4 separate regions of the Homo sapiens genome follow, and regions 2, 3 and 4 are each linked to region 1. The links are contacts of gene promoters, found by promoter capture Hi-C in blood cells and fetal thymus (Javierre and others, 2016). All regions are on one chromosome and are shown on one strand. Each heading gives the region's core, a stretch centred on a gene start or on the middle of the fragment in contact. The rest is flanking DNA. Distances are from core to core; before and after follow the strand shown. Region 1 holds the start of TAF1C (TATA-box binding protein associated factor, RNA polymerase I subunit C). Region 2 overlaps USP10 (ubiquitin specific peptidase 10). Region 3 overlaps USP10 (ubiquitin specific peptidase 10). Region 4 holds the start of USP10 (ubiquitin specific peptidase 10).

Region 1 (6,095 bases), core at 1,766-4,265:
GCTGGCTCTCAAAGAAGGAAGCCCCTCATGCCACCAGTGGCTGGTCCACATCTCACGTAACCTCACTTCCATTCAGGAGACCTTGCAGTCACTCTGGGAGCCCGGCAGGCGGCTCCACCTCCCTTTGCTGGGCTGGCCTGGGATGTTTCGGCCCAGACATTCAGGGGACAAAAGAGCTAGGAAACCAGACTCCCAGAGGAGCCCCAATTTGACGCCAGACCCTCCCTCGTAAGGATGCCATCCCTGACCCCCGTTCCCCAAGCCTCTGCTCCACTGTCTCTCTTTTTATTTGCTCACCCACTTGCCTCTGCCAGGCTTCATTCCCAGACAGGGTGTTTCCAAGGGGAACTAGGCGGCTGAGGATTCCAAGCAAAGGGCCAGTGTCCCTCCAGAGGCAGCAGAAACCCTGCAGGTCTATCCTCCCCTCTCCCAACCCTACTATGCTGTTTCAGCATCCTTCTGCTTTCATTCCAAGCTCTGATCACATTTTGTAAACACCTTATCCATTGGATAAAGTTCACTTGTTTATTCTCGCTCAACTCAGCTCTCCGTTCCAGGAAGGGAGGGGTCAACCGACTGATTCAGGCAGCATTCTCACGGTCTCATAAGGGACCCGGCATAGTGGGGGCATCCGTCTAGGGATGGCAGGGTAGCCCATGTACCCCAGAGGAGGTGGCAGAGCCTGTGTCTCAGCAGACTCGTGTGAATGCCACCACTCTGTGGCCTTGTCAACTGATGTGAATGTGAGACGGGGGACCCAGGGAAGGGATGTCCCTGGAGCTGCCAGGGCCCCCTGCCTGCATCCTCACCTCTGAGTTCTGGGGCTGGGCCTCTGGCAGAGTCAGTGCGTCTCGCCAGCTGCACATGAAAGAGAGGTCAGGGACGTCGCTCAGACCAAGGGGGCCGGTCAGAAACAATGCAGGGCGGAGGGAGCTGGGGAAGTCCATCCTGGAAACAAGGACCAAGCACCACACTGGCCACCTCGAGAGACTGGAAGCTGGTAAGGGGCGCCAGAGTTCCTGAGGAGTGAAAAGTGCACTACGGGAAGCATATGTTCTTTGAGGAAGCAGATAACAAAAAACAAATATGTAGCCCAAGGCCAAGCAGTAGTGAGAACTGTATTAAAGCCAACCACCCGTCCAGGAGAAGGGGATCTGGTAGTGGGCTGAGGGCGTGGTTTCAGCAAAGCCAGCCAGGAAAAGCCTCGTTGAGAAGGTGGCGTTTGAGCACAGCCTGAACCTAGTGAAGGAGAGAACCATGTACGCAACTGGGAAGAGGGTTCCAGGCCGAACGGTCAACAACTGTGAAAATCCTAGAGCAGTGAAGTGTGTGAGAAAATGAGGCAGCCAGAGTGAGCGAGGTGGAGAGCGGTGGAGATGGAGTCAGAAAGACGGCAAGGGGCAGCCTCTCTCCCGGCTCGTAAGTACCGTCATCATACATTTACAGACTACACCCCCAAGACGCTCAAGTTACTCCACAGCCAGGGACTGCATCTGAGCATCGTCTTCCTACTGTCAAGCACAGTGCCTCCCAGAAAATGCACTAGGGGTTGAAAAAAATAAATTTCTATCACAAGGGGCCGGGCGCGGTGGCTCACGCCGGTAATCCTAGTACTTTGGGAGGCCGAGGCAGGCGGATCACCTGAGGTCGGGAGTTCGAGACTGGCCTGACCAATGTGGAGAAACCCGGTCTCTACTAAAAATACAAAATTAGCCGGGCGTGGTGACGCATGCCTGTAATCCCAGCTACTCGGGAGGCTGAGGCAGGAGAATTCCTTGAAGCCGGGAGGCGGAGGTTGCGGTGAGCTGAGATCGCGCCATTGCACTGTAGCCTGGGCAACAAGAGCGAAACTCCATCTCAAGAAAAAAAAAAATTACATCACAAGGCTTTGGTAAATACAGTCCTCTAGAAGTATGAGCAGCCATAGCATCCCTCCTTTTTAATTAACAAAAATAACAGGGGCAAAAATAACAGCAGCGCTCGCTGACCAAGCGCCAGCATCTATCTGCCAGGCACATGCTAAATGCTGCACTCTTCTATCGCCGTCCCTGTTAACAGAGTTCAGGAAACGAAGGCTCAGCAAGAACTTTAGTCCAACAGCTCTTAGCTGCCACAGCCAAGACTTGATTCCCATCCGATTCAGAGGCAGAGCTCCGAACCAGTGCTCTCGCATGCACCGAAATGCAAACGCTAGCATTAGAGTCTCGCTATACAAAAATCTTTTCCCTTTGGCCGGGTGCGGTGGCTCCCGCCTGCAATCCCAGCACTTTGGGAGGCCAAGGCGGGCGGATCACCTGAGGCCAGAAGTTTGAGACCAGTCCGGCCAATACAGTGAAACCCTGTCAATACTAAAAATACAAAAATTAGCCGGGCGTGGTGGTGTACACCTGTAATCGCAACTACCGAGGAGGCTGGGCACGAAAATCGCTTGAATCTGGGAGGCAGAGGTTGCAGTGAGCCAAGATCATGCCACAGCACTCCAGCCTGGGTGACAGAGCAAGGTTCTATCTCAAAAATAAAATAGAAACAAAAATATTTTCTCTTGGAACCGCATAGCCTGAAACGATCCTAGACAGGCGGAGGGCGCTGGTGGAGAGCACGACCCCACAAAAGCCCTCAGACAAGGCAGCCTCGACTTCCCCGGCCGGCTTCCCGCCCTCGCTGCGGGCTCTCCAGGACCCTTTAGACCTCCAAGGCTACAGAACTCAGTCGGATCCGCAATAACGACAGGCCGGGGACTGCGAAACGTGAGCCTGCCGCGGGGACTGGGGATTGGGGGCGTCCCTCCCCTCCTACATCTGCGGGTCCGCTCCTCGAACACGCGCAGTCCGCGCGGAGGGGGCGCATGCGTGCACTTACGTGACCCCGGCCTCGTCGTGGTCGTCTGGAAAATGGGCCTCGGCGTGATGCTCGCCGGACCCTGGCACCACGAGGGAAATCTCAAGTAGAACCCCAGCTTTGGCACTCGGGACGGGTCAGCCCCGCCGCAGCTACCCACGGTCTTCCGGTTTGGACCGGAAGTGCCTCCTGCGGAGGCAGGAAGTCCCGCCTCCCAGCCAGGCCTCTTAGGGTCCTGGCGCGCCCCCTCCCGGGAGGAGAGGGAACGGGCGTGCAGGCGGCGCGTGGGCAGCGGAAATAAAGCTCCCTTGAGTCCCAATAGTGGAGGCCGGGTGGACTTAGGTTCGAATCCCACATCTACTTCACCAATTTCCTCAGAGTTGTATTAAATTAATCATTTAACGAACTCCCACAGAACACCTACTATAAGCCAGACCTGTATTGGTCAGTAGGTATCCTACTGATTGTCCTTAAATCCCAAGAAGCGGGCTTTACAAATAAGGGTACAAATACCTACTAAGAGTGAAGCTTTTCCAGGGGTGGTCAGGCAGGGAGAGCTTTAGGCAGTGGTCTTCAAACTCTAGCTAGCGTGCGTCAGCAGTAGCACCTGGGGGGCTAGTTAAAACACAGTCTCCAATTCGGTGAGTCTGGGGTGGGACCTGATGATTTGCCTAAGTTCCCAGGTGATGCTGAAACTGCTTATCTGGGGGCCATGCTTTAAGAACCACTGTCCAGTCATGAACCTTACCGTTATCCTAACATAGTACTTCTCAAACTTCAGTGAGCCTTAGAACCACCTGGGGGGCTTGTTACAAGTTTGCTAGGCTCCACCCTACCTCTGCCCCCCGAGTTGCTGATTCAGTAGATCTGGGATGTGGCCCAAGAGTCTGCATTTCTAGCAAGTTCCCAGATGATGCTGGTCCAGGGGCCATACTTTGAGAACCGTTGCTTTAAAGAATCAATTTCCAAATTCTCAGCTGTCATCTATGTCTTTATTTATTTTTTTGAGATGGAGGCTAGAGTGCAGTGGCACGATCTTGGCACACTGCAACCTCCGCCTCTTGGGTTCAAGCAATTCTTCTGCCTCAGCCTCCCGAGTAGCTGGGATTACAGGCCTGCGCCACCATGCCCGGCTAATTTTTGTATTTTTAGTAGAGACGGGGTTTCACCATGTTGGTCAGGCTGAGTCTTGAACTCCTGACCTCAAGTGATCCGCCTGCCTAGGCCTCCCAAATTGCTGGGATTACAGGATGAGCCACCACGCCTGGCCTATATTGTTTTTATCTGGAAGTTTTTACCTGGACTAAAAGTGCCAGCAGGGCTGTGTTCCTTTTGAGAGGCTCTAAGGAAGAGTCCACTATCTTGTCTTTTCTGGCTTCTGGAAGCTGCCTGCATTCCTTGGCTCATGACCCCTTTCCATCTTCAAAGCCAGCAATGCCAGTCGGATTCTTCTCATGAGGCCATCTCTCTGGTTTTTACTCTTCTGTCTCCCTCTTTCCCATGTAAGGACCCATGTGATTATAGTAGGCCCGCCCAGGTAATCCAGGATAATCTCCCTATTTTATTTGTTTTATTTATTTTTTTGAGACAGGGTCTCACTCTGTCGCCCAGGCTAGGGTGCAGTGGTACCATCATGGCTCATTGCAGCCTCAACTTCCCAGGCTGAGATGATTCTCCCACCTCAGTCTCTCGAGTAGCTGGGATTACATGCAAGCACCACCATGCCTGGCTAATTTTCTTTTTTTTTTTTTATTTTGAGACAGAGTTTCACTCTGTCACCCAGGCTGGAGTGCAGTGGCGTGATCTTGGCTCACTACAACCTCCACCTTCCAGGTTCAAACGATTTTCCTGCCTCAGCCTCCCGAGTAGCTGAGACTACAGGTGCCTGCCACCACACCCAGCTAATTTTTGTATTTGTAGTAGGGACGGGGTTTCACCATATTGGCCAGGCTGGTCTTGAACTCCTGACCATGTGATCCACCCGCCTTGGCCTCCCAAAGTGCTGGGATTACAGGCATGAGCCACCACGCCCGGCCTAATTTTTGTAGTTTTTGTAGAGATGGGATTTCATCATGTTGCCCAAGTTGGTCTCTAACTCCTGGGCTCAAGCTACCTTCCCACCTGGGCCTCCCAAAGTGCTGGGGTTACAGGTGAGAGCCCTATTTTAAAGGCAGCTGATTAGCAACCTTACTTCCACCTGCAACCTTAATGCCCCCTTGCCAAATAATATACTCATAGGTTCTGGGGATTAGGCTGTAGACATCTTTGGGGGAACCATTATTTTGCCTACCACACTAATATTCTACATTACCCTTGTAAAACGCCTATCCAGCTTTGGCACTGCGAGGCCAGTTCCATTTCTTCCTTTCCTCCTTTCTCTGAATAAGCCATTATCAATTTGCTTTTGTAACTGACATATACTCAACATGCAGTAAAGCACACGAGTCTTAAATGTACAGCTCATTGAATTTTTATTCATACATAGAAACCCACATGAACACCACCCAGATCAAGACAGAGAACATTTCTATCACTCAAGAAAGTTCCAGCCAGGCACAGTGGCTCATGCCTATAATTCCAGCACTTTGGGAGGCCGAGGTGGGAGGGTTGCTTGAGTCCAGGAGTTCAAGACCAGACTGGTCAACAGAGCAAAACCCCCATCTCTACAAAATTTTTTTCTAAAAAGAAAATTCCCTGGTGCCACTTCCCAGTCAATACTTCCTTCAAGAAGGAACCACTATTTGGACTCTTATCACCACAGATTAGTTTTGCCAGTTCAAGAACTTTACATAAGTGGAATCATGGAGAGGATGTGTCTGGCTTCTTCCACGCCATGTGCCTAATAGATTCACCTGTGTTGTGTACGCAGCTGTTGTTTCCTTTTTAAATTAGTGAGTCGTGTTCCATTGTATGAATATACCATTGATTTGTTCACGCAACCTCCTGTTGGTGAGCGTTTGGGGCGTTACTGGGTTTGATGACTTTGTGGAAGTCTCTCTGTGGATATGTGCAGCCCTCAGTCCATTTCTGGACATCTGCTGTGCTGTCCCTTCACTCTCCTGGGCCTCATCCCACTCTCTGGGCTGCACACACACACAAAATGGAATTGTTCTTCCTGATGTCAATTCTTGACATGTTGGGGAGGCTGACTACCCAGCCCACCACACCTGCTTCTTCCAAGTCAAAGGTTCTGGGAGGACTCCACCACCTGGTCCTCATATGCCCCAGCATCCTCACTGTCACAATCCTGGAGAGAG
Region 2 (6,095 bases), core at 914-3,413, 560 kb after region 1:
TATTTGTGTTATTAACTTTTGGGAAAGAGGGAGTAGGGAATGATTTAGACATTAAATGTATTCCTTTCTGCCAGGCATGATAGTGTGGAGATTGAGGCTTGAGGCTCGATAACTTGAGCCCGGGAGTTCGAGGCCAGCCTGGGCAACATACTGAGACCCCATCTTTAAAAAAAAAAAAAATTATACACACACAAAATGCTTGGAATAATTTGTGTATTTTTTATCTCAAGTTTGTTTCAAATACTCACATTTCTGGACTATTTCCCCTATTGTTAAGTCTGCTTAATAAATGCCAGCTAGTTTTTATGCCATCAGAAGTGAAATTAAGAAGGCAGATGGACTAAAAGAATCACGTATAAGGGATTTTGAAGTGAAATACATTAAACTCTTGATTACTCTTAAACTATCCACTTTAACGGGTTCTACTTGGACCTTCTTGGTGGCAAGGCCATCTCCTCGGTGTAGGTTATGTGTCAACATTTTGTTCCATTGGCTGTTTTTCAAGTGTGAACTGTTATTTGAAAGGAGAAGGACACGCCAGGGGAGAGCGTGTGAACTGAATACTCAGTGATTTCCTTTAGCCCCAAGGGAAGGATGTATCTAAACACAAAAGCCCTGTCTTGCCGAGGGTTGGAGAGGGATCTGTGTTTCAGTGACTGGTCTGAGAGGAGATGGTTGCCATTTATCAGTAGGAGTCAACAAAAGGAAACTTAATACAGCCCGGCACAGTGGCTCACGCCTGTAATCCCAGCACTTTCGGAGGTTGAGGTGGGTGGATCCCTTGAGGCCAGGAGTTCAAGACCAGCCTGGCCAACATAGGGAAATCCCATCTTTACTAAAAATAAAAAAATTAGATGGACGTGGTGGCTCATGGCTGTAATCCTAGCTACTGAGGAGGCTGTGTCAGGAGAATAGCTTGAACCGGGGAGGTGGAGGTTCAGTGAGCCCAGATCGTGCCACTGCACTCCAGCCTGGGCCACAGAGTGAGACTGTCTCAAAAAAAAAAAAAAAAACCCAAAACTTAATAGCTTGTGTTTGAAAGTAGTTGCAAAACGCGACACCCTTGTTAAGAGTGAGTATGGCAGACACGTGGGGAGTGCCTTTGCTGCTGCTTCCCTCATTAGCACAGATACTTTGGAGTTGACGAACATGTGACGTTTGAAATTGAACGTATGCTTTCATTGAACATTGTACTTTTCCTGGGTCTTTACTAAGGAACATTCCTCATATACTAGACGAAATTGTATCAGATGCTTTCACATCACAAATAGAGCCATTTTGTATTTGATGTTTTGCTTTCAAAATTATGCAACAGTATATTTTGTTTTAACAGAATATAAATAATGCTGGGTAAGAAGAGTGGCCAACTGCCCGATAAGTTAAAATTCCAGTGAGAGAGAACTAGGAAAACTGAGCTCTTGAACAGCTCTGAAAACATTGCGTTGAGGTATCTAGCAATGTCATTTATTATGAATTGTTAGTCAAAACCTGTTTATATGATTTTTCACAGTGGTTTTATACCTAAAAGGCATTGGATCAAGAAACAAAGTTATTACAATTTGGGTCTTCTCTAATGAATTACCCTGTCCGTGTTTATTTAAGTGTAAATGAACATACAGTTATGTGCTGCTTTAATGATGTTTCAGTCAACAACAGACCGCATGTACGACAGTGGTCCCATAAGATTATAATGGAGCTAAACAATTTCTAGTGACCAGTGAGTTGTGTTACAGTTGCCTACGGTATTCAGTACACAACATGCTGTACGGGTTTGTAGCTTAGGAGCAATAGGCTCTAGCATATGGCCCAGGTGTGTAGTTGGCTATACCATCTAGGCATGTGATCCCACAATGACAAAATTGCCTAATGCCACATTTCTCAGAACATATCCCCATCATTAAGCATGGCTGTGTATCCTAAAACTGATCTTTATTTTGGCAGTTTATAAATCATGCATATATTTCCCCCCGCTCCTTGGGGGAAATGGTTTCTCAGATATTTTGCACTTCCTCTTCAAACTCTGAAGTACACAGGCAGTGGTCATGCGGCGTGATCTAAGTTAAAAAGGCGTGGCACCTGTTTACCGGGATCCACCCTTGTGGACTGAGAGTTTAGTCCACATCTGATTCGATGTTTGTAGCCTCACATTTATTATACATCTTTCCACTTCAGAAACATAAGTTGATCTGTAGTCAATGGGTAGTGGTACATTTTGGTCACTTTGCTGTCCTCCACCTGGTTAGATAACCAAGATAGTGTGTGTTCTTCCAAATTGATGGTAATGAGGAAAAGAAAAGCACTTGGAGAATGTTCTGGACAGTTAGAATGATGACAGAAAAGCAGGTCAACAACACCAGAATGTCGATTACGGGCCAGTTATTGAGCCCTAAGAATCAGAGTTCTGTACCTTGCATTTTCAGGGATTTTCAATGTTAATATGACCCCTAAGTCCTAATTTTAGGAAAACAGAATTTGATGTGTAAAATATGTGTAAGAATAATCATAGCTTATGATGACATAAAAGTTTACGATGCTGGTATTGCCTTTGAGTTGATAAACAATTTCAGTGGGCTGATTTGTGGCAGCCCTTGTGAGCTACCATCTAGCATGTATGTCTTAAAATTTGAAAAAAGGCTATTAAGCAACTCCATTTTTCTGTATGTCAGCAGATTTCATAAGAGTGAAATTTCAGTTCAGCCTTTTCATGTGAGTTATTACAAAAGTGAACTACAGGTTTCAATTTTGTGTCTTTTATGAGTCATTCTGGCATTTTGTGCCTTTTCTCACACATTGTTCTAGGCAGCCCCACCAACTCCTGTGACAAAGATGGACTGGGGGAGGCCATCTTCCTAAAGTTGCTGTCTGAACAGTTAAGTAGTAAATTATACCAACCATGATGAATTGAAAAGAAGGCTTCTGGGGAAAGTTTGTTATTAGAGCCAACTTCTATTATATGCCCTTAAAGAAGGTAAAATAGATACACCAATGGCAATGACTTTGGAATGCAGGTCAAGTTTCAACCTAGAAGTTGCCTGCCCTCTATCCTTGGTGGCCCGCCTTCCTCATTTTTATTCTTTTAGCCTCCATAATTGGAATGCGTATTGGACTTTAGGCTAGGAATAACATTGTAAATGAAAATGTTGATGTTGAAAGAGGAATTTAAATAGAGCGAAGAGTGATATTAGAAATTTGGAAGTGGTATTAGTTCTGGCTTGTCCGTAAGACCTGACTTTTGCATGATAACAATAGGATTCATTCACTTGAACATAATTCGGTCTGGTCTTAGGAGGAATTAGAACTGCTTTTGCACCCCTGTTTTTTTCACTGCGAGGAAGAAGAGGAGCTCACGAACTTCATAAAGCGTTAGTGTCTCCTCCAGTTGATGGTTATCGAAATGAGTCAGGATGGAAGGCTTAGTGTACGTGTGAGATGTTACAAAAGTGGACCTTAAATGTTTCTTGAGTGTTTGGATCTTAAGAGAAAATCTTTGACAATAAGTATTTAATCTTCATTTCTTACAATCATTCCTCTTAAAATGGAGCTTTATTTTTTAAAAACGTATTTTTTTTTTCTTAAGAAACAGGGTCTTGCTCATTCATTCAGGCTGGAGTGCTGTGGCATGATCATAGCTCACTGCAGCCTTGATCTCTCAGGCGCAGGTGGTCTTCCTGCCCCAGCTTCCTGAGTAGTTGGGACTATAGGCAGGCACCACCATGTACAGCTAATTTTTTTATTTTTTATTTTTTATTTTTCATAGCAACAGAGTCTCACTGTGTGGCCCAGGCTGATCTTGGAACTCCTGGACTCAAGTGATCTTCCTGCCATAGCCTCCCAAAGTGTTGCCTGAAATAGAACTTTATTAATATATCTTTAATATGTCAAGATGTTTAAAACTTGTCAAGATTTTAAGGAAGTTGGGCTAACATTTCCTCTTGGGATGCTGAAAGTTGTTGGTTTTCTCAGACTCTCACATAAATTCATTTGCTTTTCCCTTCTCCTTCCACCTCTATTAGCTCTTTATTTTCTAGGGGGGATTCTGATGTCTGTATTGAGCTGGCCGTCATGCCGGGAGTGGTCTGCTTATGTATTTACATGCGTGCTCATCTTTGCTATAGCTGAGCGTGGTGCAGCTCCTTACCTGTTCCAGGTGCGGAGTGATCTGCCGCACAATGAATGAAGTGGCAGAGCCAGGGCGCGAACCCCCGTCTTCCTGGTTTGTGTGCCTGGGCCCTTGCCCTTTACTGTGCGTCTTCTCAGGAGCTGTCATTTAGACTTTCTGGACCAGGAGCTAAATGACCTTTAAAGTCTGTTGAGTCATTTCTAACAAATATGAGTGGAGTCATTTGCCGTAACCAACAACTTTAATCTCCAGATGTTTAATTGATCCTGTATTACTGTCTAATGAGAACTTACTGTATGCCATGCACTGTCTAGTTGGAGTAATGATTGGCCTTGCCTTCAGGGTAGTCTAAGGCATAAGATCAGAAAGGAACAGATGGCAGCTGTTTGTAGGGAGAAGTGATCATTGGCAGAGGGGTGTTGAGGGGAGAAAGCAAGGAGGGGAGGCCTCATGCAGCTAGTAGGGATGGCAGTAACAGGCTGAGGACACAAAAGGCCACCAAGTCCTGTTACCTTAGATGGTGCGGACTTTGTTGAGCAGTTGAAGTGTGAGAGTCTTGTCTTTAAGGAGCCTCCTGTCCAGAGAAGGAGGCACACAGCACTAATATCAGGTAGGCAGTGATGAGGTCAGCTACTGTGGAGACAGTGTGGAGAATCTTGAGTGCCTTCTGTCGGTCTTACTCTGAGATTAGGATTTAGGATCATTATAAGAGATTAATAACAGAATGATACGGTATTTTAGTTTATGAAAGACTTGCCACTAGATAAAATTTTTCTACAGTAACAGAATAATCATTAAGAAAAATCTAGGTTGTTCGTGTCTCTTCTGTATTTTCCAAGTCTGAAAAGGTTTATTCTGCGTTTAACGACGTCGTACCAGAATGGCCTTTCAAAGACTGTCAAAGGCTTGAAGGAAAGCTTGGTGGAGTACATTTCCTAGTACACGTCCCAAGGGCCCGTACGTATGTTCTGCTGTTGCAGAGGTTGTGCTCGTTCGCTTTTGTAGGTTCCTTGCAGTTATTGAACAAACCACTGGGTGGTGCTAGAAGACTTGATTTTAATACTGTGCAAGAAAAACTGAAACTGCTTTTTAACCTGCCTGCGCCTCAAAATAAGCAAACTGGAAGCTGGTATCGATTTAAGGGAATGGCTGATGTAGAAACTAAAGGTTTCTGTCTGACTAGTTCATGCTGTCTCACAAATAAATGCTGGGAAAAAAGTCGGTTTATAGTTGATTTATGTATCCTTTGATTGCATAGAGATTGAATGGTCAAGCCTCCAGGCCATGCAGATTATTCTGGGCCCCTAACTCAGTTAAGAACATGAAAGGAGGCCAGGCACAGTGGCTCACACCTGTAATCCCAGCACTTTGGGAATCCAAGGCAGGCGGATTGCTTGAGGCCAGGAGTTCGAGACCAGCCTGGCCAATGTGGCAAAACCCTGTCTCTAGACTTTGTCCCAGAAAAAAAAAAAAAGGAGCTGTGTTTTCAGACAGAGCTTAGTGCAGCCAGTTCTTGATGGCTGTGCAATGCTTTCCTTTTAAGAGTGGAGTTAGCCTCGTCATAAAGCGTGTTTTTGAGTCTGTTCGAACGGGTCAACAACGAAGGGAAGTTTCAGGCAGATCTTGTATGCCTGGCCCTGGTGGCTGCTTTCATTTCCTTCCAGTATCAGTGCTAAACAGGAATGAACATGTTCAAGCCCCGTCTCACCCACCTCTGGCATCTTCGCCCTAACTCTGCCCTAGAAGACCTTTCCTTCCGTATCGTCAAGAAAACTGAAGTTGCTGTTTCACTCCTTCTCCCACCCAGAAACTTCGCTGCATCTTCCTGGATCCCTAGCTCCTTGCACCCATGATCCTGTCTCCTTCCTCAGCCCGGCTTCTGGCTGAGCAGCCTGCACTTGCTGTCTTCACTCCTACACGCTGCCCCCACTCCTACACGCTGCCCCTGCGTGCTTCTCACTTCTCTACCCTTCCA
Region 3 (6,095 bases), core at 1,014-3,513, 550 kb after region 1:
TAGGAACAAAATCCTTTTTTCTCGAAACTTTCAAAATGTTGCCCCATTGCCTTCCATAGCCTTGTTGATTTTGCTATTAAGACGTTCTGTTGAGTTTTTTAATTTAGTGATTTAAAATTAGTAATTAATTTCCGCGAACACTTTCATGATCTCTGATAGCTCTTTTTTTTTTGTGATAGTCTGTGCTAATTTTTTCTGCTTCCTTTTAGCCTATAGAATTTTCCCTTCCATTGCTTTGAGGGTTTCTTAGTGAAATTCATATCATCTTTTCCCAGTGTTGGTGATGAGAAGAAGGTGTAACCTTCTATATTCTTCACTGAAAAGTGACAGTATTTCAGAAGATCATTTCTGAACCATTTTGAGGCTCTGTTTATTTTCACTGTTACTGTCAATACATAATTTCTTTGTTGACTTTTGCAAGTATATGTAAATATTATATGAAAACTTTTTTGTTCTTAATGTATATTTATAGTTTTGGTAGATGTTGTCAAAGAGCTCTCCAGAAACGTTTTCCCTGTGCATTCTTACCAGGAGGGTATTACATTTAGTGGCCATTTATTCACATTTACAATAATAATGAGTATTATTCATTTATGTAATATTTAGTTACTGGTTATTTTTGAATCACTTGGCTTGTAAATTTCCCTGGAAGCTACTAGACTGTTTAGTTCCATTAGAACAGAGGAACCACACTCTGCTTACCATTTTTATACCCAGTACTGATCATACGTGGGCATTTGTAGGTTCTAAATAATTATTGATTAAATGAATGAATCATTGCTTCTCCGTTGTGGAAATTGCTAATTCTTCTCAATGACTTCTTCTTCTTCTTTTTTTTTTTTTTCTTTTTGAGATGGAGTCTGGCTCTGTCGCCCCGGCTGGGGTGCGGTGGCGCGATCTCAGCTCACTGCAACCTCGGCCTCCCTGGTTCAAGCAATTCTCCTGGCTCAGCCTCCCGAGCAGCCGGGACTACAGGTACACGCCACCACGCCTGGCTAATTTTTGTATTTTTAGTAAAGATGGGGGTTTCACCATGTTGGCCAGGCTGGTCTCGAATTCCTGACCTTAAGTGATTCGCCCATGTCAGCCTCCCAGAGTGCTGGGATTATAGGCGTGAGCTACTGCGCCAGGCCTCAATGACTTGTTTCTTGAAGCTCCATGGAGAATATGAACTGGTAGGCACTTGCCAGACTCACATCCGTGCAGTTTAACCACTTCGTTTTCCAGAAAATCACATTCTGAATTCCGTGAAATCAGGCTTGCAACAAGGGCTGTGTCTGTCTGATAATATGTGTATCTGTGTATCCTATGGAAATGCATTTTTAAACTAAGAAGTTATATAGATATTTTTAAAGATCATTAATCAGGATCATTAACATTTTCCTTTTTTGGATTTCCTTGTCTTCCCATTTGAACCACGTTTTCTGCTTTTCTTTAGTATGTTTGGCAGAGAAAGCGGAAATGGAGGTAGTGGCATGAGTCAGCAGAAAGGTAAATGGAACAACTGGCAGTATTTGTGAACCAATAAAAATCTCCTGCAAGCAGGACTCGACAAGTTTGGCATACAAAATTGATTTGTTTCAAAATAAGCTTTATCAGTTTCATAGTGTTCTTTGACAATTTGTAGGAAAGGTTCAGTAGTATTTCTTTTATATAAACAACCTAGAACTCTGAGTTGCAGATCCTCTGTTTAATTGAGAAAGGATCTTGGGGGTTATGGCCCAAATGTTGCATAGGATTGTTAAAATATGTAGCATTTTTTCTGAAAGTATATAATTTGTATATTTTATGTGATCAGTGACTCTCTTATTTTTTTTCAGTATATTTTTGGAGATTTTAGCCCTGATGAATTCAATCAATTCTTTGTGACTCCTCGATCTTCAGTTGAGGTAAGACAAAACTTTGTTTTAGTGAGTCCGTGGGTAGATACAATTAATAGTTATGTTTCTATTTTAATTTGTTTTTTTAAATAAAGAATTCCAATGTAGAGAAAAGTATGGAGACTAATATGAGAAATGCCTCAACCCACCAACTAGATTTGACTGACATTTGATTTGACATTTTGCTGTATTTACTTTATTAGGCTTTGAAAAGCAAATAAAACATTACAGATGCAACTGAAGCCTCCTTTGGACCTCTCTCCCATCTCTCCCCAGAAGTAACTACTCTGCTGAAATTGGGAAATATTGGTCCTGACTGGTTTTCACCTTTTATCATATACGTGTATATCACCATAGTCAATCGTAGTGTTTTATGTGCTTTAAAGTGTCACGTAAATGGTATACTATATTCAGTTTGTCGTTTATTTTAAGCTAACGTTGTATTCTTTATGCTAAGAAATTTGTCCTTGTTCTTTGATTTCCAGTGCTCAGTACCACTGATTGAACACACTGCAATTTACTTACATATTTTCCTGTCGAGGGCCATTTAGGTCTCTAGTTCAGCCGTTAAAAATATTGCACTCAATGTATTTTATCATGTCTCCTGGTGCCCCTCTGTGGGCTCCTCCGGGACACAGACCTGGGAATGGAATTACTGGGTTCTGTGGACCGAGCCTCTTTAGTTTCACTAGAGACTGCTCGTTTGCTATCTAGGATTTTAACAGTCTTCATTCCCATCAGCAGTGCATGGGAGTTTTCTTGCTCGTATTAAAAAAAAAATCTTGCTAACTCTTGGTGTTGGCATATTTAAAATTTTGTGAATCTGATGTGTGTAGTAAATGGACTCTCATTGTTTTAATTTACATCTCCCAGATTACAAACAGCTGGGTACTATTTCATTCTCTTCACGTCTGCTGGCAATACGGATGTCCTCTGCTGTGAATTACTTGGTTTATATCCCTTGTCCATATTTTTAAATCAAGTAGCTTGTCTTTTTCTTACTGATTTTAGGATTAATCTTTGGTTTTACAGGCATCTGTTCCTAGCATGAGGGCTTTAAGCTTCACATGTTAGGTGAACCCTTTTTGGGGTTGGGTTTTTTTGTTGTTGTTGTTGGATAAGAGGAGTACACTTTCAACTTTAATGTCAACTGAATTGATTTTTTTTTCCTTATAGTTTGTGGATTTTTAGTTTTAAAAATATCTTTAGGAAATTCTTCCCATCCTTTAGATAACGAAGATATTTGTCTGTTTTCTTCTAAAAGTTTTCAGATTTTGTTTTCACGCTTCAGTGTGTAATAAGCTGAAATTGAGGCACTGAATTTTGTATATGTGTGAGGTGGCATCGAACTCCCTGCCCCTGTGGCCCTGGCAGGTGCCTCCTCACCATTCATTGGGAACTCGGCCCTTAGCTGTCCTGTCAGCCCCGTTGGGCAGTGCATCTCCCCTGGTTCCGAGTGTGCTATTCTGTGGGCCTATTGCTTATCTCTGTATAAACACCACACGTTTTATTTTATTTTTTTATTTCTATTTTTTCTTTTCTTTTCTTTTTTTCGAGACAGGGTCTCACTCTGCCCAGGCTGGAGTGCAGAGTGCAATCACAATTCACTGCAACTTTGACCCCCCGCCCCGCCTCAGGGGGGTTCTCATGCTTCAGCCCCTGAATAGCTGGGATTACAGGTGTGTGCTGCCAGGCCCGGGTGGTGTGTGTGTGTGTGTGTGTGTGTGTGTGTGTGTGTGTGTGGTGTGTGTGTTTTTAAGTAAGGGGATTTTGTATTTTTTCCCACATCACACTGATGTAACCATACGTTTTAGTTGCTACAGGTTTTCTCAAGTGTGTACACATGTGGATGGGTGGGTACCTGTTTGCAAGTGAGTAGACAAAAACTTGAGTTTTCATGTGATAGGAAAGTGAAAAGTGCACCGTATTTCAAGTCTGAAGGCCTGGGGTCGCTTCAGTTCTGCCACTTCCACAGGCTCGGAGGGTTTGGGCACGTTCTTTCCTTTTGGGCCTCCCATTTCTTTTCTCTTTCTTTTGTTTTTTAAATTGAAAAAATGCAGAATGCTTATTCACGTCACAGAAATGTTGGGAAATCAGCTAATGTATGGTCCGATAACTAGTGAGTAACAGATGTTAGTAGAAATGGATGAAAAGGGTACAGATGGTAAGTTATGCCAAACCTTTTATTCACAGAAGACGTGACTGTGTCTCATGAAAATGAGCTCAAGCTTCAGAACTCGTAGTGTGTGTGGGCTTATTTGGGCTTTTCTGTTTTTCTTATTTTTTAACATACGGTGAAGTTTGGAGGGGTATAAAAAGAGTTTATCAAAATCACAGTAACCTGCAAAAGGGAAATGCAGGCTAATTAACATAATCGGATGGAGTTGTTTTCCCCAATCTTCAGGAATCTGAATTATAATAGCACATGATTACACAGGAACTCACTTTCATGGGGCGGCATGTGGTTGGGCCTGTGGGTGTGTGAGTGGCGAGGGCGTGTCACTTGGACCTGTGGGTGTGTGAGTGGCGAGGGCGTGTCACTTGGACCTGTGGGTGTGTGAGTGGCGAGGGCGTGTCACTTGGACCTGTGGGTGTGTGAGTGGCGAGGGGAGGGCGTGTCACTTCTACAGCACAGTTTGGCCTTTTATCTCTCAGGTAACATAATTGCCGCTCAAACATGCAGTGTTTCTACCATGTGGCTGTGGCATGAGTTACAATCTAGTCGAATTTTTCATATGCTTTTTCTCCGTTGTTAGGAGCTTGATAAAATATTGTTTTCTCTACTTGGGGCCATGAATTGAAAAACCAAAATTAAGAAATGTGGGATGTTAAGATGAAAGAGCATTCTGCCTTCCTGCAGAAGCGCCTCCTGCCAGCGGAGGGCTGCTTTGTCTTTTAGTTTGCTTGCTTGGCAGCTTGCCACTGGCAAGATAAGGTGGCTAGTAATTTAGTGGCATCAGGAGAAACGAATTCAGGTGAAAGGTAGCTGGCATCTTTTCTAGAGTTGTGCTCCAGTGATTTAAAAATTATTTTCTCCAGTGGAAAAAATGCAGTCACCTTATTTAATAAGCATGTTTAAACCTCAGTCGTAATCCTGTTATTTATGTTCAGAAAGAAAGAGAAAATGCTCACCATTCTTTAGTTTCCAGAATCTCAGCTTTGGAAGTAGCACACATCCCAACCATGACTGAGTCAATAAGCCCCCGATGACATAGTGTTGGCAGTGGGCAGTGTGTGTGGTGTGGGTGTGTGTGGGTACTCATGGAGAGTAGAGAGTAGAGACAGTTCTTAATTTGGTGTGTTTTCTTTTTTGAGAGGGAGTCTCGCTCTCTCGCCCAGGCTGGACTGCAGGGGCGTGATCTCGGCTCACTGCAAGCTCCGCCTCCCGGGTTCACACCATTCTCCTGCCTCAGCCTCCCGAGTAGCTGGGACTACAGGCGTCCGCCACCTCGCCCGGCTAATTTTTTGTGGTTTTAGTAGAGGCGGGGTTTCACCGGGTTAGCCAGGATGGTCTTGATCTCCTGACCTCGTGGTCTGCCCGCCTCGGCTTCCCAAAGTGCTGGGATTACAGGCGTGAGCCACCACGCCCGGCCTAATTTGGTATCTTAATGGGATTTTAAAGGAGGGCTTTGTGGTTCAGGAGAGTCTTTGAGACGGAAAGCAGAACACACAGGTAGCCCAGAGGGAGACTTCAGAACATGACCTTCCTATAGCCACGGGCCCAGGTATCCTTTTCACAAGGCCGCAGCACTGTTTTCACACTGTGCGTTTAGCATAACTATTAATAGATGACAGTTTTTTCCCTTGCTCACTTTGCATTTGTCTAGGGAATTTTATGTCTTTGCTTTGATTTTTGAACTTTGTATTCTTACAAATAGTTATATAGTTAATGAGTGAACTTCGAACCATCCTGGCACTTTTATTCTGTTGTGTATTTAGATACCCAGTTACCACAGACTAAGTGCATCTGATGTGTGAGGGAGGTTTGCTGAATGAAAGGTGCTGTGTGCCTGTGGAATAAAACACACACATTTCCACAGTGCCACAACCCATCTGGCATTCCTGCAGGTGCGCTCTTTTATCAGCTTAGCAAATCAAAGTAAGTGTGTTGAGCATGCTTACTGAAGGTGGCAGTGTCATCTGGGAGTTTGCTGGTGGTCGTCTCACCAGATCCCTGCTGTGCCTCTTACTGGCAGTGTCACCTGCTGGCACTGT
Region 4 (6,095 bases), core at 2,007-4,506, 520 kb after region 1:
TTTGCTACTTGCCAGGCCTCATGTCAAGCACTTTACGCGTGCTTTTATGCCCTACGTTTTGTTTTTGTCTGTTTTGCTTTTTTCCCCTAATGCCTAGCCAAAGGCGTGGCCCAGGCGCCCAGGCAGGACTTGGGGAGTGAATGAAGAGTGAACAAATGAATGAATGCGCGGCAACGGGATCTTCATAAACCAGACCCTCCTCGGGGATCTAATGCGAACACTCCCGAGGCCCGGGCCCAGGTACGCTGAGGGCGGCTCGTGGGCCCCAGGCCGACCTCAGCCCGCGACTCCCGGGCTCCGGGGGCCCAGGTGGCCCCCAGTAGGTGAGGAGCCGGGCCCGCCGGCGCCTTGGCGTTGCCACCTCTACCTGCCTGCCCTCTCCCCTTCCGGATCCACAGCCAGGCCTCGGCGGGCTCCTGGTGTGCAGCCGCCCGGCCGCTTCCGCCCGAGGGTCGCGGGGCTCAGAGTCCGGCAGGCTCCAGGCGGGGCAGGGGATGTCCGCGGCCCGGCAGGCGCACGCCCACCTGTCGGCCGCGCAGGCGCAGCAGCGGGCCGGCCTCCCCGCGCCCCGCGGCGCGCGGCCAGTGCGCAGGCGCGGCGGCCGATGCGAGTGTGTATGTGCGGGCGAGAAGATGGCGGCGGCGGGGGAAGCAGCGTGAGCAGCCGGAGGATCGCGGAGTCCCAATGAAACGGGCAGCCATGGCCCTCCACAGCCCGCAGGTAGCCGCCGGTCTGCGCCTTCGGCCGGAAGGGGCCCGAGCCCCGGGCGGGCGGACGCCGCGGCGGGCGGGCGTCCGCGCCCTGCCCGGAGCGAGCGTGTGGGAGTGGGGGAGGGCGCTGGGACACGCTGCCCGGGCCTAGGCCGGAGCCACCCGCCGCCTCCGCGCCCGCCGCGCCTTCGTCCCCTGAGCCACCCGGACCCCCTAGTCCCGGGGAGGTCGAAGGGCGGGGGCTCCGGGCCCCGCTTGGGGAGGGCGTGGAGGGCGCCGAAGGGGTTAACCTCCCTGGGGCTGGACCGCGGGGCGAGCCCGGGGTGTGGAGTGGGGCCCTCCCCGCCGCGCCGGCCGGGGGAGGCGGCCCGGGGGCTCCGGGAGTCCCCTGGAGCGCAGGGGCCCCAGAGCAGCTCAGGTTGCTGCCTCTGCCTGGAGCGAGCCTCAGAGATTTGGGGGTGCCCTGTTGCCCCTTTGCCCCAAGAGCTTCCTTTCTCAGCTTGATTGATGATGCGGGGGTTGCCGATTTTCTGTTTTTTAGATAGAAGTAGCAGAGTAGCGGCCTTGGGCTGCTGTTGCAAAGAAAACTCGAAATAAGTCGCAAGGACCGTACTTTCACTTGCGTTTGAGTGACATCCCTTGCACGAATCCATCCCAGCCAGGCTGACAACTAACGCACCCTGCCTGAACAGTAGCTAAAGCTTGGGGGCCCTTTACAATAATCCCGTGGTGGAAAGAAAGAGCTCTTTTTGGGAGATGTGCGTGTAGAGTTAAGCTCTTATTCCCCTCTCCCACCCCTTCTCTCACATCTTCTCCCCCCTCCGCCATTATAATTATTCTGGACAAAAATCGGCATGATGTATTATTTGTCAGCCTTGCTTTAGACTGCTAATTTGTTGACATCTGGTCCCTATAAATTGTTGCACACTTTTAAACCATCTCATTGTGTATTTGTATTAAATATGGGGAAATGAAACAAAGTAGCCATTCGGGAAACTGATTGCGAGTAAAATCATAACCCTTCATGAGCAATTGGGTTTTGTTGCCCTTCTGCAGATGAAGTCAATCTGACTACACCTCTTTTGAAACATGATTTTCGGAACTATTGTAATGAATGCGTGTTGTGGAATCTAAAATGCGAAAACTTTTTAAAAAATTAGATCTTACGACAAGCTTCAATTTTGTTAAATTAGCTGTAGTTTAGTTTGCATCAGAATTTCCCCCTTTAACGTTTTGTTCCCTTATTCATTTACTTTTGTAAGTAGTGTAGGTCTTTGCGCCAAAAAAGGGATCAGTAGTTGAATAATTTTTACAAATGTATAGCCCAAAGATTTTAAGAGATTTGGTGTATTTAGCTTTGTTTAGACCTTTCTGTTAAAAAAAAAGATTTGATATTTGCTTTTTTCTCAACTTAAATCCTAATTAACTAGCTTATTAGAATTGGTATGAACAAGTAAAAGGCTCATTATGAATTAATGTGTAATATTCCTTGTGATTTTGACATGAAGAAAGCATCTTTAGGCATAGCTCACTTCCTTTATTTAATAAGCATCAATCACAATTCAAGGTTGATTGAAATGTTAATTAATGGGGATGGATAATATGTAAACTTAATTGTAATTTCGTTTGCATTCATTGTCCCAGTATTTACGTTTTATACAACAGTCTAAAGCGTTATACACATCTTTAGAAAATTGGAGTAGCAAAAGTTGGCGGAACGTAAATGTTAGCAACACTTTGGGTTTATTCTTTTAAAGTATGATTTAAATGCTTTTAAGTTTTAGCATGGAGAAAGTAGCAAAGGAAATAGTTTGATTTCTCATAATTTTCTTCTTCTTTTTTTTTTTTTTTTTGAGTTGGAATTTGGCTCTTGTTGCCCAGGCTGGAGTGCTGTGGTTATTAACCTATAAACTTTTTTATTTATTTTGAGATGGAGTTTCGCTCTTTTTTTTTTTTTTTTTTTTTTTTTTTTGAGACGGGAGTCTTGCTCTGTCGCCCAGGCTGGAGTGCAGTGGCATGATCTCGGCCCACTGCAACCTCTGCCTCCCGGGTTCAAGCGATTCTCCTGCCTCAGCCTCCCAAGTAGCTGGGATTACAGGCGCCCACCACCATGCCTGGCTAATTTTTTGTATTTTTATTAAAGACGGGTTTCACCATGTTGATCAGGCTGGTCTCAAACTCCTGAGCTCAGGTGATCCACCCGCCTCGGCCTCTCAAAGTGCTGGGATTATAGGCGTGAGCCACTACTGCGCCTGGCCGATTTCTCATAATTTTCATTTTAAAAGAATAGTAATGCAAACAAGTAATGGAATCATGTATGACAGGATTTAGTTACTGGTTCCTGCTCCAGTCATTCTGAGCGTTTTAATAAATTTGTTTTACTTGGTTGCCTACTGTCCTAAGAGTCTTGCAGCCTTAATGGCCATTCATTCATTCAGCAAATACTGATTGTTTATCAGATATTAAGCGTCATGGTATGTATATTACTTGTTTATGTTGGGAATAACAACTGCAAATTGAAGGTCTTATTTTAAAATTGACTTGTTAAAGTTAAATTTGTCACTGAGAATAATGGGAGGTGGAAAAAGTTACAGTTTAAAAATGTTTACAGGCCAGCGCGGTGGCTCGTGCCTGTAATCCCAGCACTTTGGGAGGCGCAGGTGGGTGGATCACTTGAGGTCAGGGGTTCGAGATCAGCCTGACCAATATAGTGAGACCCTGTCTCTACTAAAAATACAAAAATTAGCCGAGTGTGGTGAAGCTCGCCTGTAGTCCCAGGTACTTGGGAGGCTGAGGCAGGAGAATCGCTTGAACCCGGGAGGCGGAGGTTGCAGTGAGCCGAGATCATGCCACTGCACTCCAGCCTGGGCGACAGAGCAAGACTCCCGTCTCAAAAAAAAAAAAAAAAAAAAGAGCGAAACTCCATCTCAAAATAAATAAAAAAGTTTATAGGTTAATAACCTTATTTCCAAATATTAGAAAGTGTTGGTTGATCCCTGTTACCTGTATTGAAGTGTAATAGTGAAGAATTTGGAAACATTTTGAGACCGGTAACTCAGCATTTTAGCAAAGACAAATAAATGAACTTTAACAGTTGAAGTGTAGGTCCAAGTGAATATCCTTGTCACTGAGGGGACCGGTTAAATTATTTGGGGTAATTAATTTGAAGCTATTAGTTTTGCCTTACACCGAAAAAATATTTGTGATTATTGATGTCATTTATAGTGAAATCTCCACAATAATGCTTCCTACACCCAATTTGAATGTCATGCAGTTGGCTTCTGTCCTTGTCTCTGCATAGACTCACCCCAGTCTCTTTTTTAGCTTGTAATAGCAGATCCTCCACATTTTACATGATGGAAAGTCTTGGATTCCCCCTCTAGCATATGGCTGAATGTTACTGTATTGCTGAATATCTGTTTCTAGCCAACAGCTGGATTAGTGTTAATTCTTAAAAGAGATACATTTTTATTAGAATCTCAAGTAATGAGCAGCTGAAGTAAATACAATTGTTTGAAATGTTGACAGGGCATTTGGAGATAACAGTTTTCCTTTGCATAGTGACAGCAAGCTATTTAAACATGTCCTAAGAGTAGATGTTTTAAGTTTGTGAGCCAGTGGTCACCTTAGTGGTTTGTACAGATGGCCTGAGAAGTTTGTGAGCCAGTGGTCGCCTTAGTGGTTTGTACAGATGGCCTGAGCAGCCGCGCCGTACCAGGACCTCACCATCATGCTCTTGAGCCCATCTCATTGAGAGCACAGCGCACTGAAATTCCAGTGAATACTAAGCGGGCCTACCACATTCTAAATTCCTCACTAAAGCAAAAGTTAGGACATGTATTCCAGTGTTCTGTTACGTGGAACTGATAGGATTTAAGCAGTGATTCACATAGGAAAACTTAAAGGAGAAAAGGATTACGAAGCTTAATGATTGCTGTTTAATGCCAAGCCTAAGCGGCACGTTGCACTGTGCTGTGCTCAGAATATAACATTCAAGTAATTGAGAAAAGTGGTATCATCTCCAATTGAATTAGTTACATCAGGGTTTTTGTTTCGGTTTTTTGTTTGTTTGTTTGTTTTTAAAGATATAATTTCAGACATGTAGGTACTTCCTGTTAATGGTTCCTGGTATTCAGGTGGCACATTAAACGTGGTTGCTGAGGACACTTATTACTGGTACTATACCAAAATATGAAACGTAGTGGGAAGAGCTTGCTTTTGAATTTGTAATTAGGCTGTTACTTTTCTATTTACTGCCACACATGCAAGAATCACCATCGCACAAAACAGATAAATCTGTTTGCAATGGAATTTGCTGGCCTTGGGCCATTGGATTACTGTCATTTGTCACTTTAGTGCCACTTCAGCAGTGTAGATGTTCATTTCCAGAGACTTGTATGTGCTTGGACTGCAGTTTTCCTGTTTATTGAAGTGTTCTCCCAAAAGGTCTTTCTTTGACCATTTCTGTCAATACAGGCTGGATGAAGAATTAGTGTAGGAAAATAAAGGTAGCCCTTGGGGTATGTGTATAGTATTTGTTTCAAGGATCAGAAAATGTAGAATTTATCATAAACCTCGATGTAGAATCTTCAGATCCTAGATTTTTTCTGAACTGGCTATTTTCTGGCTATTTGAAAGCTCCTGGGCCATGATCCCATTTTCATCAGATGACTTGAGAACCCAGAAGCTCTACCAGCACTGCCATTCTGTCCCGTCTTGAAACATCATGCCCTGGTTGCCCTCTCCTGGAATAGGGCAGGTAAGGTGTTGAGATAGAAATGTGGTTTGGGGCTGTTACAGCCTGAATTCCTCGACTTTCCCTTTTGGGCTCACATGAGAATTGTTAGGAGAATGTGCATGTGGAGTGCGGGCCCAGCACCTGCTACCGTCTGCGCTGTAATGGTGGCTGCTCCTAAGAGTCCTCAGTCTCCTCCCCGTTGGGCTTGTGTGTACAGCCTTATCGGTTGTCATTCTTCGGATCCATTCTCAGTTTATTTTTCTGGTATTAGCTGGAGGGACATCTCCTTAAGCCTGTACTCTATGGCTCAGGAGTCTCAAAACCAGTCCATTTTGAAGTGAGAGTATCCCTAATAAAAAGGTGAGTGTCCCCACTCCTGTGCCTTGTTTTTTTTGTTTGTTTTTTTTTTTGAGACGGAGTCTCGCTCTGTCGCCCAGGCTGGAGTGCATTGGCGGTATCTTGTCTCACTGCAACTTCTGCCTCCCGGGTTCAAGTGATTCTCCTGCCTCAGCCTCCTGAGTAGCTGGGACTACAGGCACCCGCCACCATGCCCAGCTAATTGTTTGTATTTTTAGTAGAGACTGGGTTTCACCATGTTAGCCAGGATGGTCTCCATCTCCTGACCTCACGATCCGCCCACCTCGGCC

What was found. The method cuts DNA at HindIII sites, captures the fragments that hold promoters and counts their contacts. A CHiCAGO score of 5 or more calls a contact.
Region 2: a contact is called between a fragment that was not itself captured here and the fragment with the promoter of TAF1C in region 1, in 3 of 17 cell types (naive CD8 T cells, total CD4 T cells and total B cells). The highest score is 5.9, in naive CD8 T cells.
Region 3: a contact is called between a fragment that was not itself captured here and the fragment with the promoter of TAF1C in region 1, in 2 of 17 cell types (total CD8 T cells and naive CD8 T cells). The highest score is 5.6, in total CD8 T cells.
Region 4: a fragment that was not itself captured here is called in contact with the fragment with the promoter of TAF1C in region 1 in 2 of 17 cell types (fetal thymus and total CD8 T cells); the score reaches 6.5 in fetal thymus.

What each region holds. Positions count from the first base shown.
Region 1 is chr16:84,184,042-84,190,136 of GRCh38, forward strand. TAF1C (TATA-box binding protein associated factor, RNA polymerase I subunit C) reads right to left here and starts at 3,016. Exons shown (of 15, transcript NM_001243156.2): 1 at 2,860-3,016; 2 at 810-1,019. The coding sequence starts at 947. RefSeq lists an enhancer at 2,856-3,356 and a silencer at 3,002-3,211. The HindIII fragment of the contact is 17,434 bases long and covers 1-3,364 here.
Region 2 is chr16:84,749,409-84,755,503 of GRCh38, forward strand. The region is part of intron 4 of USP10 (ubiquitin specific peptidase 10); the gene reads left to right. Among named protein-coding and RNA genes, the nearest start is that of USP10, 52 kb to the left of the region's middle. RefSeq lists an enhancer at 2,804-2,883. The HindIII fragment of the contact is 5,744 bases long and covers 1-5,035 here.
Region 3 is chr16:84,731,615-84,737,709 of GRCh38, forward strand. USP10 (ubiquitin specific peptidase 10) reads left to right here. Exons shown (of 14, transcript NM_005153.3): 2 at 1,821-1,889. Among named protein-coding and RNA genes, the nearest start is that of USP10, 35 kb to the left of the region's middle. RefSeq lists enhancers at 3,817-4,782, 4,783-5,748. The HindIII fragment of the contact is 1,351 bases long and covers 1,589-2,939 here.
Region 4 is chr16:84,699,392-84,705,486 of GRCh38, forward strand. It overlaps USP10 (ubiquitin specific peptidase 10), which reads left to right and starts at 609. Exons shown (of 14, transcript NM_005153.3): 1 at 609-720. The coding sequence starts at 700. RefSeq lists silencers at 81-600, 691-910, 921-1,030, 1,071-1,180. The HindIII fragment of the contact is 2,750 bases long and covers 1,882-4,631 here.